2 separate regions of the Homo sapiens genome follow, and region 1 is linked to region 2. Evidence: promoter capture Hi-C in human tissues and cell types (Jung and others, 2019). All regions are on one chromosome and are shown on one strand. Each heading gives the region's core, a stretch centred on a gene start or on the middle of the fragment in contact. The rest is flanking DNA. Distances are from core to core; before and after follow the strand shown. Region 1 has its middle 12 kb from the start of GBGT1. Region 2 holds the start of SARDH (sarcosine dehydrogenase).

Evidence for each region. The method cuts DNA at HindIII sites, captures the fragments that hold promoters and counts their contacts. A contact is called where the count stands out against the background at its distance.
Region 1: a fragment that was not itself captured here is called in contact with the fragment with the promoter of SARDH in region 2 in 2 of the 25 tissues and cell types used here (bladder and mesenchymal stem cells).

What each region holds. Positions count from the first base shown.
Region 1 is chr9:133,173,051-133,178,404 of GRCh38, forward strand. No RefSeq gene overlaps it. Among named protein-coding and RNA genes, the nearest start is that of GBGT1, 12 kb to the left of the region's middle. The HindIII fragment of the contact is 3,395 bases long and covers 1,228-4,622 here.
Region 2 is chr9:133,734,739-133,740,289 of GRCh38, forward strand. SARDH (sarcosine dehydrogenase) reads right to left here and starts at 3,614. Exons shown (of 21, transcript NM_001134707.2): 1 at 3,516-3,614. The HindIII fragment of the contact is 19,009 bases long and covers 1-5,551 here.

The sequences.
Region 1 (5,354 bases), core at 1,675-4,174, 560 kb before region 2:
GGTGGTGTGTGCCTGTAGTCCCAGCTACTTGGGAGTCTAAGGTGGGAGGATTGCTTGAGCCAGGGAGGGAGAGAATGCAGTGAGATTGCACCATTGCACTTCAGCCTGGACAACAGAGTGAGACCCTGTCTTAAAGCAAACAAGCAAACAAAAAAGGCTACATTTATTTTTCATATTTTTATTTCATTTTTCAAGATCAAGTGCCAAGTAGGCCTTTTCTCCATTATTTCTTTCAAATACAGGACTCTCTTTTAATAAAATGGCCAATTCCCGGTGCTCATCATCCCTGCTAACCCCATGGACCGTCCCTGCACGTCACAGAGTGGGCGTGAGCTCCACGTGGGGAGTGACCTCATCGGATCACGCTCACTGAGGCACACAGCTGGGCACACAGCAGGACCAGAGAATATTTGCTGAATGAGTGAATGCATCAGGAAGCTATGGTGCTGGTGTTACCAGCTGTTAAAACTTCAGACAAGTTAAATTTGATGGAGTTTAATTGGAAAAAAATAAAAAAGAAATGATTCACAAATCGGGCAGCCTCCAGAATCACAGCAGATTCAGAGACTCTGGGGGTTCCTCGTGGTCAGAACAAATTTATAGACAAAAAAGTAAAGTGATGTACAGGAATTGGAAATGAAGTACAGAAACAGAGATTGGTTGCATCTCGGCGTTTGCCTTAGTTGAACACAGTTTAAACACTCAGCAGTCTATGAGTGGTTGAAGTATGGCCGCTGGGATTGGCCAACACTCAGCCATTGTTATAGGTGCATACTACTAAGTTGGGTTTTCCATCTTGTCTGCCTATTAAGCCAGCTTATGGTTCATCCACAAGGACTCAAATAGAGAGGTAGGGAGTCCCTTCTTAGGCCATATTTAGTTTGCTTTAACAATTCCCCTCTTTTGGTCAGCCTCTCAATTTAGAGAGATTGACCGAAGCTTTAGGCATTGATGCCACTCTCTGTCACCATCCTAAAGACTTATTTGGTCTCAGTGTGGAATTCACAAGTCTTCTTTAGTTTCAGTATGGAGTCTCACACATCTTCTTTGGTGTTAACATGGAATTCACAAGTTGCAGCTTTGTACCAGCTAAATGATTCTTTATGTTCTTTTTGACCTGGTTGGAATGAGACCATTCAACTCTCAATGGATGGCTGCATACAAAACATTTAAGACTTGAGAGGATACAGTGTATCAGGGTGACGATTATTATGACTATCAAGAGGATACTATCAAAATGCCAAGGCGTACTCCTTAATGAGAGTTCTTATGAAATGAACCGAACCAAATTAGCCAAGTGAAGGTTCAGACAATATAGGCAGTTCAACAGTGTTAGGGTCCAATTGGTCATTATCCTCGTTTAGAGTATGATAGCGATTAAGGACCATGGTTTGCTGTAAAGTGGCCTGACTTAAACAGTTACTCATTTTCATTGTTACATTGGTAATACAAGTCATAATAACTTGGAAACCTACTAGAAGAATTATAAGGATTAGAAGCCCTTGGAAAACCCAAGCTTGCCATCCACCCTTAGGATGCCTGCAAACCGTTAGTTGCCTATTGTAAACATGTCATGGGCTCCTTTCTCTTGAGAGATGTCTTTAATGTATTTGGTGGCAGTGTCTAAGGAAACAGCAGTATCAGCACCTTTTAAATTAAGCTTCCTGTAATAACAAAATCAGGTAAGAGATAAGTAGTACAACATTCAGTTTTGTTTAACACCAAACCTAGGCTTCCAGCTTGAGCAAAAAGATCTGAGGTTGCACGATGTTCCAGTAAGTGTTTTTGCTGAATTCACGTGTTGTCATCTATCTTTTTTTTTTTTGAGATGGAGTCTCACTCTGTTGCCCAGGCTGGAGTGCAATGGCATTATCTTGGCTCACTGCAACCACCGCCTCCTGGGTTCAAGCGATTCTACTGCCTCAGCCTCCCAAGTAGCTGGGATTACAGGCATGAGCCACCATGCCTGGCTAATTTTTGTATTTTTAGTAGAGATGGGGTTTCACCATGTTGGCCAGGCTGGTCTCAAACTTCTGACCTCAAGAGATCTGCCCGCCTTGGCCTCCCAAATGCCGGGATTACAGGCGTGAGCCACCATGCCCAGCCCTGTCATCTATCTTTCTGAGAGCAGCTTCTACCCATCTGAAACCCTGGGAGGTCTGATTGATTACAAAATCCAAGATTTTTCCCAATTTACAAATTAGCTTTAAATTCCATACAACTGCTATCTCACTACCACCAAGAGTGCACCCCCAGGAATCCCACTGGAATCTTTCCTCAGTAGAAACGAGCTTATCCTCAAATATTTCAAGGCTAGTGCTAATTTCAGTTATTGATCATTTTGGCCTCCAATCATAAGGGCCATCATGAGAATTTTCAGGGGAAGCTATTTGAAAGGCAGGAGCAAGCCAGGCCACATAACAAGAACCCAACCAATGAGGAGGCAGAACAGGATACGCAGACTCTTCACAGACCCAGTATAGACCCTTGGGGATTGGAAAAGAGGGCCACCTAGTTGCATTTGAGCAGAGATCAGTCAGGTTTGTTCGACCACAAATCTGCATACCTCCTGAACAACGTCCAGTGGGAAATTTACTTTTCTGTGGCCCCTTTATAGCATGTTGTAAGGGTATATAACCATATCTAGTAAAAAAGAGACCCTACTGGATTTAATCCAGTTACATTATACAAGCAATCACTTGTATCAACATAAGTAATTCCCAAATCTTGAGTGCGTGATGTCTGGAAGCACAATGTATCTTTTGCTGGCATCACTTGGATTTTTTTTTTTGAGACGAAGTTTCGCTCTTGTTGCCCAGGCTGGAGTGGAGTGTAATGGCACGATCTTGGCTCACTGCAACCTCTGCCTCCCAGGTTCAAGTGATTCTCCTACCTCAGCCTCCCCAGTAGCTGGGATTATAGGCGCCTACCACCATGCCTGGCTAATTTTTGTATTTTTAGTAGAGATGGGGTTTTACCATGTTGGCCAGGCTGGTCTCAAACTCCTGACCTCAGTTGATCCACCTGCCTCAGCCTCCCAAAGTGCTGGGATTACAGACATGAGCCACTGCACCCAGCCTTGGATTGTTTTTTTATATTTGGTAATGATCGACTTATCAATTGAAAAAGTTAGAGTGTTGTTTTTAGTGAGTGTAGGAAGCAAGTAGCAGTGATGTTTAGCATATCAAGAATAACTTTCTGTTCTTCCCTTAGTTTCAGGTAGCTCTCGCTGGGAACGCGGAGGGGCACTGGCACCAGTGGAATCATTTCCTGATTTTTTTTTGGCATTAGCCCACAAACCCAACAATTACTCTGGTTTTGTGCTAGAGCATAAACTTGAGCTAAAGCCATCCACTGATTATGGTGCCATGGGTTTGCCTGTAGGGAAAAGGACAAGATTAGGGCAGAAGATGAGGAAAACAGAAAAACACATAAGGCTTTCCTGATGATAGAGAAGTCTTGGTCCATGATCTTGGGAAAGCTGTCCAAAACTAGGATGCTGTCTGCTTCTGAAGAGAGATTTCCTTGGTCAGCTTTACTTTAAAGTCTCCAACAGGTGTACAGTTCCAGGACTCTGAAGGGGCCCCTTTTTGTTTTTTTGAGACGGAGTCTTGCTCTGTTGCCCAGGCTGGAGTGCAGTGGCGCGATCTCGGCTCACTGCAAGCTCTGCCTCCCGGGTTCACACCATTCTCCTGCCTCAGTCTCCCGAGTAGCTGGTACTACAGGTGCCTGCCACCACGCCCGGCTAATTTTTTTGTATTTTTTAGTAGAGAGGGGGTTTCACCATGTTAGCCAAGATGGTCTCGATCTCCTGACCTTGTGATCCACCCACCTCGGCCTCCCGAAGGGCTGGGATTACAGACGTGAGCCACCACGCCCGGCCAAAAACATGCAAACTATTACAAGAACATACTGATACCCCATTGCGCGTCACAACTAAATTAAGTCCATCTGTAAATGCTCAAATTGTTCATCAGGTGGTGGAAATATATGACCTGAAGTTTTGATTGTTTTTCCAGGATTATGAGTTTGACAAGTCAAACATTGATTATAAACCATTTTAGCAATTTTGGAACAGTCACCCGACCAGTATTTTTTCATAATTTGGATCATTTTGTCTGTTCCATGATGAGCGGTGGAGTGCAGCGTTTTCAACAATGGAAGCTTCAAAGACTCAGGAAGGACCAGGCGGCCGTCTGGGCCCTCCGTGAGTCTGTGCATCACATTAAATTTACATCCTTTTAGATACCAATTTTGCTTTTCCAAATCAGGTGCACTGCACTGTTTACTAAGCAGGTCATCATAAGGAAGTGGGCTCGGCTTAATCCAATGGAGTTCATTCAGATTGCATTTCTTAACAGTTTCAGCACTAGCTGATTTAGCATAAAAATTTGCTAAAGCATTTCCCTGATATTTGGGTTCAGTTCTACAAGTATGAGCTTCAATCTTAGTAACAACAGTCTACAATGGTAACAGGATAGCAGAAAGGGGCTCATTTACTTGGGGTCTATTTTTGATGGAGGTCCCACTAGAGGTGAGAAACCCTCATAGTTTCCATATCACGCCAAAATCATGTACTACTCCGAAAGCATATCTACTAGCTGTATAAATATTTACTGACTTGTCCTCAGCTATATGACAAACTTGGGTAAGGACAAAAAGCTCTGCAGTTCGGGCTGACTTAAATTGAGGAAGCGTTTCCTTCTCTATTCACTCATTTTGGATGGTAACAGCATATTCTGCCTGGTATTTTCCTTCTGAGATTTTAGGATAGGACCTATCAACAAAAAGTATAAATCCAGGATTATCCACTGGAGTATCTTGTAAATCAACATGAGGGGCCACTATTTCTGGCACTACATTTACACAGTTGTGTTCTTCACCATCGTCAGGCAAAGGTAACAGAGTAGCAGGGTTAAGTAGATTACAGCATTTTAAATGAAGATTAGGAGATAGCAGTAATTCATAAAATGTTAGTTTACTTACTGAAAAATGCTGGGTTTGGTTGGAATTTAACAGACTTTCCACAGCATGTGAGGTTTGCAAATTAAGTTCGCTTCCTAAAACCAGATCTGATGAAGCTTCTACCAGCTTGGCAGCTGCTGCTACTGCTTTTAAACAGTTAGAATATGCCTTAGAGTCTGGGCCTAATTGCAGGCTATCGTATGCAATGGACCTATGTTTAGCACCACGTTCTTGTGTAAGGACTCCTAATGCCTGATTGTCACACTCATGAACAAACAAGGTGAAAGGCTTAGGGTAATTTGGAAGTCCTAAAGCTGGGGGCTGTTGTAAGGCCAACTTCATTTGGCTAAAAGCCTGCTCATGACTATCTTCCCAAGGTAAAGGCTCTG
Region 2 (5,551 bases), core at 2,364-4,863:
GGACCAATAGCTGGAAAGGAGGGGCTCCGGTCTCAGGGACACTCACCCCCAGATCACAGACAGCGAGAGGCTGGGGCTGGGCGGGGGCCGTCCCGCCAGCCTTGAGAGCCCTTTCGGAGCTCAAGATGCTCCTGAGGGGCCAAGCAGCCCTGCTGCCCCACAGGTCTGTGCTGGGGCAGACCCCAGGTCCTGCGGGGTGGGGATGGGACCTGGGAGGCAGGAGTGCCCAGAGAAGGCGGTGGTAGTGGCACAGCAGGGCAGGGAGGGGGTTGTGTTGAGTGATGGAGACACTTGCGCTCCCAGACAGAGAGCCAGGAGGAGGGAGAGGCATCGTGGATGCTACAGCAGTGGCCGCAGGGTATCGGCAGGCAGCCTCGAGACGGGGCACCCAACCCCCAAGCCTGGAGCCAGCACCTCCTCCTGGGCAGGCCCCTCCCAAACCCAGACAAGAGGGGTTGCCCCCTCATCAGCCCCAAAGCTCGGTGGGACTAAGGCGGAAGCTGATGAAGGATGTGGTGTCCCGGCTCTGCTCCCTTGGGGCCACCTGGGATTGCAGAGTAGGGGCTCAGAAGCCGGGTTAACAGGCCTTCCTCCCCTCTGCTCCTTCCCAGCTGACCCACCCCGACTCCCTCCTCCTTCAGGAAACCCTCCCAGATCTGCCCAGCCAGAAAAATCCAATAACAATGAGAATGCAAGAGGGAGCCCTCCTTCTCAGGAGAGAAGGCGCTGATGAAGACGGATGTCTCCTTGGGTGCAGGCGAGGCAGGACAGGCAGTCAAAGGAGTCACCATGTCCTGGGGACGCAGCAACCGTGGTGACTGCAATCCACACAATCAGCCTCCACGTTTGCACTGTAACTGAGCTCGTGTTAACTGAGCTCGTTCAAGCAAAGCTGTCTGCAGTAGGGCCTTTCCCCTGGAGAGGGCATGTGCACATTGATTTTACCTGTCCTCAAACTGACCCTTTGCTCATTCTAATAGTAAAAAAACACACCCCTCGGTGGAGATTTTAAGATGCTAATGAGGCCGGGCTCTGTGGCTCATGCCTGTAATCCCAGCACTTGGGGAGGCCGAGGCAGGCGGATCACCTGAGGTCAGGAGTTTGAGACCAGCCTGACCAACATGGAGAAACCCCATCTCTACTAAAAATACATTAGCCGGGGGTGGTGGTGCATGCCTGTAATCCCAGCTACTCTGGAGGCTGAGACAGGAGACTTGCTTAAACCCGGGAGGTGGAGGCTGCAGTAAGCCGAGATTGTGCCATTGCACTCCAGCCTGGGCAACAAGAGTGAAACTCCGTCTCAAAAAAAAAAAAAAAAAGATGCGAAAGAGACATGTGACGTATGAACAAACATGTACAGCTACCGCATGTGCACCCAGAGGACCAGCCATCACATGCTGCCTAGTAACCTCTTCCTCTCTTTCCACCCACTTATGAATAATTGTGGAAGACTCCCTGAAAGGGGGTTTCTCCAACAATCATCAATGCTGCCTCACACTCAGGAGCAGCCCCCCGCCTGGAATCCTCTCTCTCCCAGGGTGCATCCGCACCTAACTTTCAAAATGTTCTTTTTCTTTTGCAATAAATTGCTCTATGTTGCAGCTCTTTTGCTGTGTGTCTCATGTTTAAATTCTGTTTTGTTGTTGTTGTTGTTGTTTGTTTGTTTGTTTGTTTTGAGAAAGAGTCCCACTCTGTCTTCCAGGCTGGAGTGCAGTGGCATGATCTTGGCTCACTGCAACCTCTGCCTCCTGGGTTCAAGCGATTCTCCCACCTCAGCCTCTCGAGTAGCTGGGATTATAGGTGCATGCCACCATGCCTGGCTAATTTTTGTATCTTTAGTAGAGACAGGGTTTCACCATGTTGGCCAGGCTGGTCTCGAACTCCTGACCTCAGGTGATCCGCCTGCCTCGGCCTCCCAAAGTGCTGGGATTACAGGCATGAGCCACTGTGCCCAGCCTAAATTCTTTAAACTAAGAAGTTAAGAACGGAGGTCTCACAACAGCCCTCAATGGAAGGGTGGGGTGGTGTCCTGCCCAGTGTGGACCTCCACTGCCCTTTTCTGGGATCTGCAGGAAAAGTGAAAGGGATGTGGCTGTGATCCAAGATGTGAAGTGCTGTGCCACCTACGTCAGTATGAATGACTGATATAATTATCTAAGAAAGTCAGCATCCTTTTTCAAGAGTGGACCATAGCTATGCACGTTCGTTCACTCTCATTGAACACCTATAGACACATGATAATGTCTCTACTTCACAGCGGGGGAGTCTGACACACGGAGAGGCTCCCTGAGGTGACCAGGGTCATAGGGCCTCCATGTGGCAGTGCCAGGGACTCTCTCCTGCCCCCTCTTCTGACCATCCCAGGGGGACTCAGGACCCACTGCCACACTCTGTCCCACCTGAACTGTGGGCACTGCCCAAGCCCTGACGAAGCCCAGAACCCTGTCCTAGGCACAGTGGGGGATGTGAGGGGGATCCCAGCTCTCAGGCTGGTCAGGGCTGCCCCCCATCTCCTGCCCCAGTGCCCCATCCCAAGGGAGGGAGCAGGGAGTCTGATTGCAGCGGCGTAGGGGAGTGAGGAGGTGTTGGAGCTTGTCCTCAGCCTCTCAGCCCTCAGTGTGTCAGCCCGCCTGGCTCCTGCCTGCAGAGGTGGCCCCGGACAAGGAGGCATGCCTCCTGCATGTGTCTGTACATACCTTCAGTCCTTGAAGGTCCACAGTCTTCCAGGAGCCCCCAAAAGTGGTGCCCCACCAGGGGAAAGCCAGCTTGAGTGGCACCGAGGAAGGCCCTCCAAGGCTGAACACCCCCACCCCACCACCCACCACCCACCACGGTGCCGCATGGCACAGCACACCTGGTCAGCTGTGGGCAAAAGCCTCCCTCCTCCTTCCGACTGTGCCCAAAAAGCGACAGCTGCTGGCGCCGGAGGCTGCCACGTGCCCCTTCACCACCTGCCTGGTCAGTCAGGGCTCTTCTGACTGTCAGACTGGGGGCTGGCAGCGGCCCCAGCGGGGACAGCCCAGAGCCCCTCCTGCCTGCCACCTCCCTGGAAACAGCTGCCTCCACATTAACCCACTCTCTTGCCCCCTCCAACTCTGTCTCGTACCTGAGTCAGCTTCCCAGGAGTGAGGGCTGAGGACAGCCCTGGGCTTGGGATCAGACAGATGGGTGGGGGTTTTGTCACAGGACTGGGGCCTCGAGCAACAACTTAACCTCACTGCAAAGCAGAGGACCCAGGAACGCCCTCCTCCTCCCAGGCTCAGGGGGTGGTGGGGGTCAAGCGAGGAGAGCGCCTGGCACCTTCGCCTGGTGAGGGTAGGCAGACTTGTGGGGAGGAGCGGCAGGGGGCGGGGAGGCAGCTGCCCATATGGTGAACCCTGGTCCTGCTCATGCAGCTGGATGGTCCCTGCAGCCAGAGGCAGAGGGAGATCCCAGCCAGATCTGACCAGGCCCAGCCCCGCCCACATAGGGGAGGCCCCAGCCTCGTCCCTCCCTGGGGGTGTACCTCCAAGTACCTCTTGTCAGCTGCAGTGCCCCTCGGCCCTAAGAGTGCTTGGCCCAGCAGAGGTGCCTTCACCTTCTTGCTTCCCAAGCAGTGGCCTGGCCGGAACTCCAGGCCTCCCCCGCCCCCCACCCTCGCTGCCAGCCCCATGTCTCCGCCCAGGATCTGGGCGGAGCGTACCGCCCACCACTGCGGCTTCTAGGCCAGCTTAGTTGGGGCTTCTAGGCCAGCCCTGTGGGCAGCTCCCTCTGAGGGCGGCAGAGCAGGGTTGTGAACCCCATGCCCCATTACCCGTAGGCGACCTGGCAGTCACCCTTCCGCTCCAACCCTCATTTCCTCGTCTCTGAAACAGGCGCCTCAGGGTTGCTGCAGTAGACCCAGGCACCACCTGCCTGCTGGAGCCGCCCGAGCTCCCCGCGCCCAGAAGGAGCTATGCACAGGCAGGGTGGGCAGGAAAGGTGGGGTCAGCAGCAGCTTGGGCCAGGGGCCCGTCCACTGCAGGGAGGCTCCTTTGGTGAGGTCATCTCAGCACATGCCCCAGTTTGCTCACCCCCAGGGACAGGATGCTCACTGCCTTCAGAGGCGAGTGAGAAGGCCTGGGTCAGCTTCCCAGGGACAGGGTCTCCTGGTCTGTCTGCGTCCTGCTTTCCCGAGCTCCCAGACCCCTCTGGTGTTTGGGGAGATGCCCCCAAGCCACTGGCTACTGCACAGCACGTAGCCCCCAGGGCAGGGATTCCAGCCTCCATTGACTGTTGGGGACAGCAGTGCCCAGGGAGGGGGCCACACAGCAAGCTGGTGGAGGAGGCAGACCGGATGCTGCAGCCTGACTCTGGGCTGGGGCAAGTTACCCCTTCCCAGACAGAAGTAGACACCCAGAGGAGGGGTGTGGAGGAAACCCAGAAAGAATACACCTCTGGATGCCCAAAGAATCAGAACAGGTGCTGATGGAAAGTCACATCTCCTCCTCGCGCTGGATCAAAGACGGGGCATTTCAATGGCAGTCTGTTAATATTGTAATGATGCCAGCTGCCAATACCGGAAGCGATCGTATAGTAAACTGCTGTAATTAATACCAATCAAATCATTGTGTTCTTATTCACACCGAGGATGTCCGACTGTCTTGTTGCCAGCTTGTCTATCCTCTACATTTACTGAATGCCCAATGTGTACAAAGCACTGCTGGGAAACCTATAGTGACATCTAAGACCCAGCCCCTGCCCTCGAGGGGCTCAGGGTCCACGAAGCAGACAGATCCAGGGAGAGACACGACACCACAAGGCTGGCTTCCTTCCAGCAGGGAATCCAGGAGGACCTCTTAGAGGAGGGGGCCTGGGCTCTGGGCCTGACCACGTGCTGACACCATTCTCAGTCCCTGCCTCAAAGGCAAAGGGCCCACTGGCTTAGGCCCCTGGCTGCCCAGTGGAAAGCTGGCCCCGCCAGTTTGAGGCTTACCTGGGGTGGTGTGGGGGTCCTGGGGCAGAGGACCTCCTCTTTGGATGGTGTGGCTTGCCCAGTGGCCTGAGCTAGGGCTGTGCTCACCCAACAGGGTGACGAATGAGCTCAAGAGGGCAAGGAAGGAGTGTGGCCCAAGTTCTCCCAGGAGTCCTGGACGTGCAAGTGCATGGGAGAAAAACGCAGCAGTCACCACAGCTCCAGGGCAGTGGCCGGGTAGCCCACACTTCTCCTGTCCCTGCACTCAAAGACAAGTTGCAACTGTTGCAAAACTGTTACAAGCCAAGAGGGCAGCACAATGAACCTGCACTTTGGACAAGGGGTGGTGGCTGGGGGCCGGTCCCGGCCTGTTAGCTGTCTGTTAGTATCGTAGGATTTTCATCCGGCAGGGCCTGTTAGCACCCAGCTCCGGTCTGGGAGAGGTGGAAAGGCTGTCTCCCCCCAGGGACTAGTAGTCACAGCTCTGGAGAGGCCAGGCTCCGGACAAGGAGGCCAAGACAGGGTCCTGTACGATCTCGGGCTGGTCTTATCACCTCTCCCTTTGCTGAGACTTAGTTTTCCCATCTTGGAACAGGAGGCTGGAAGCCCTGCCATGTC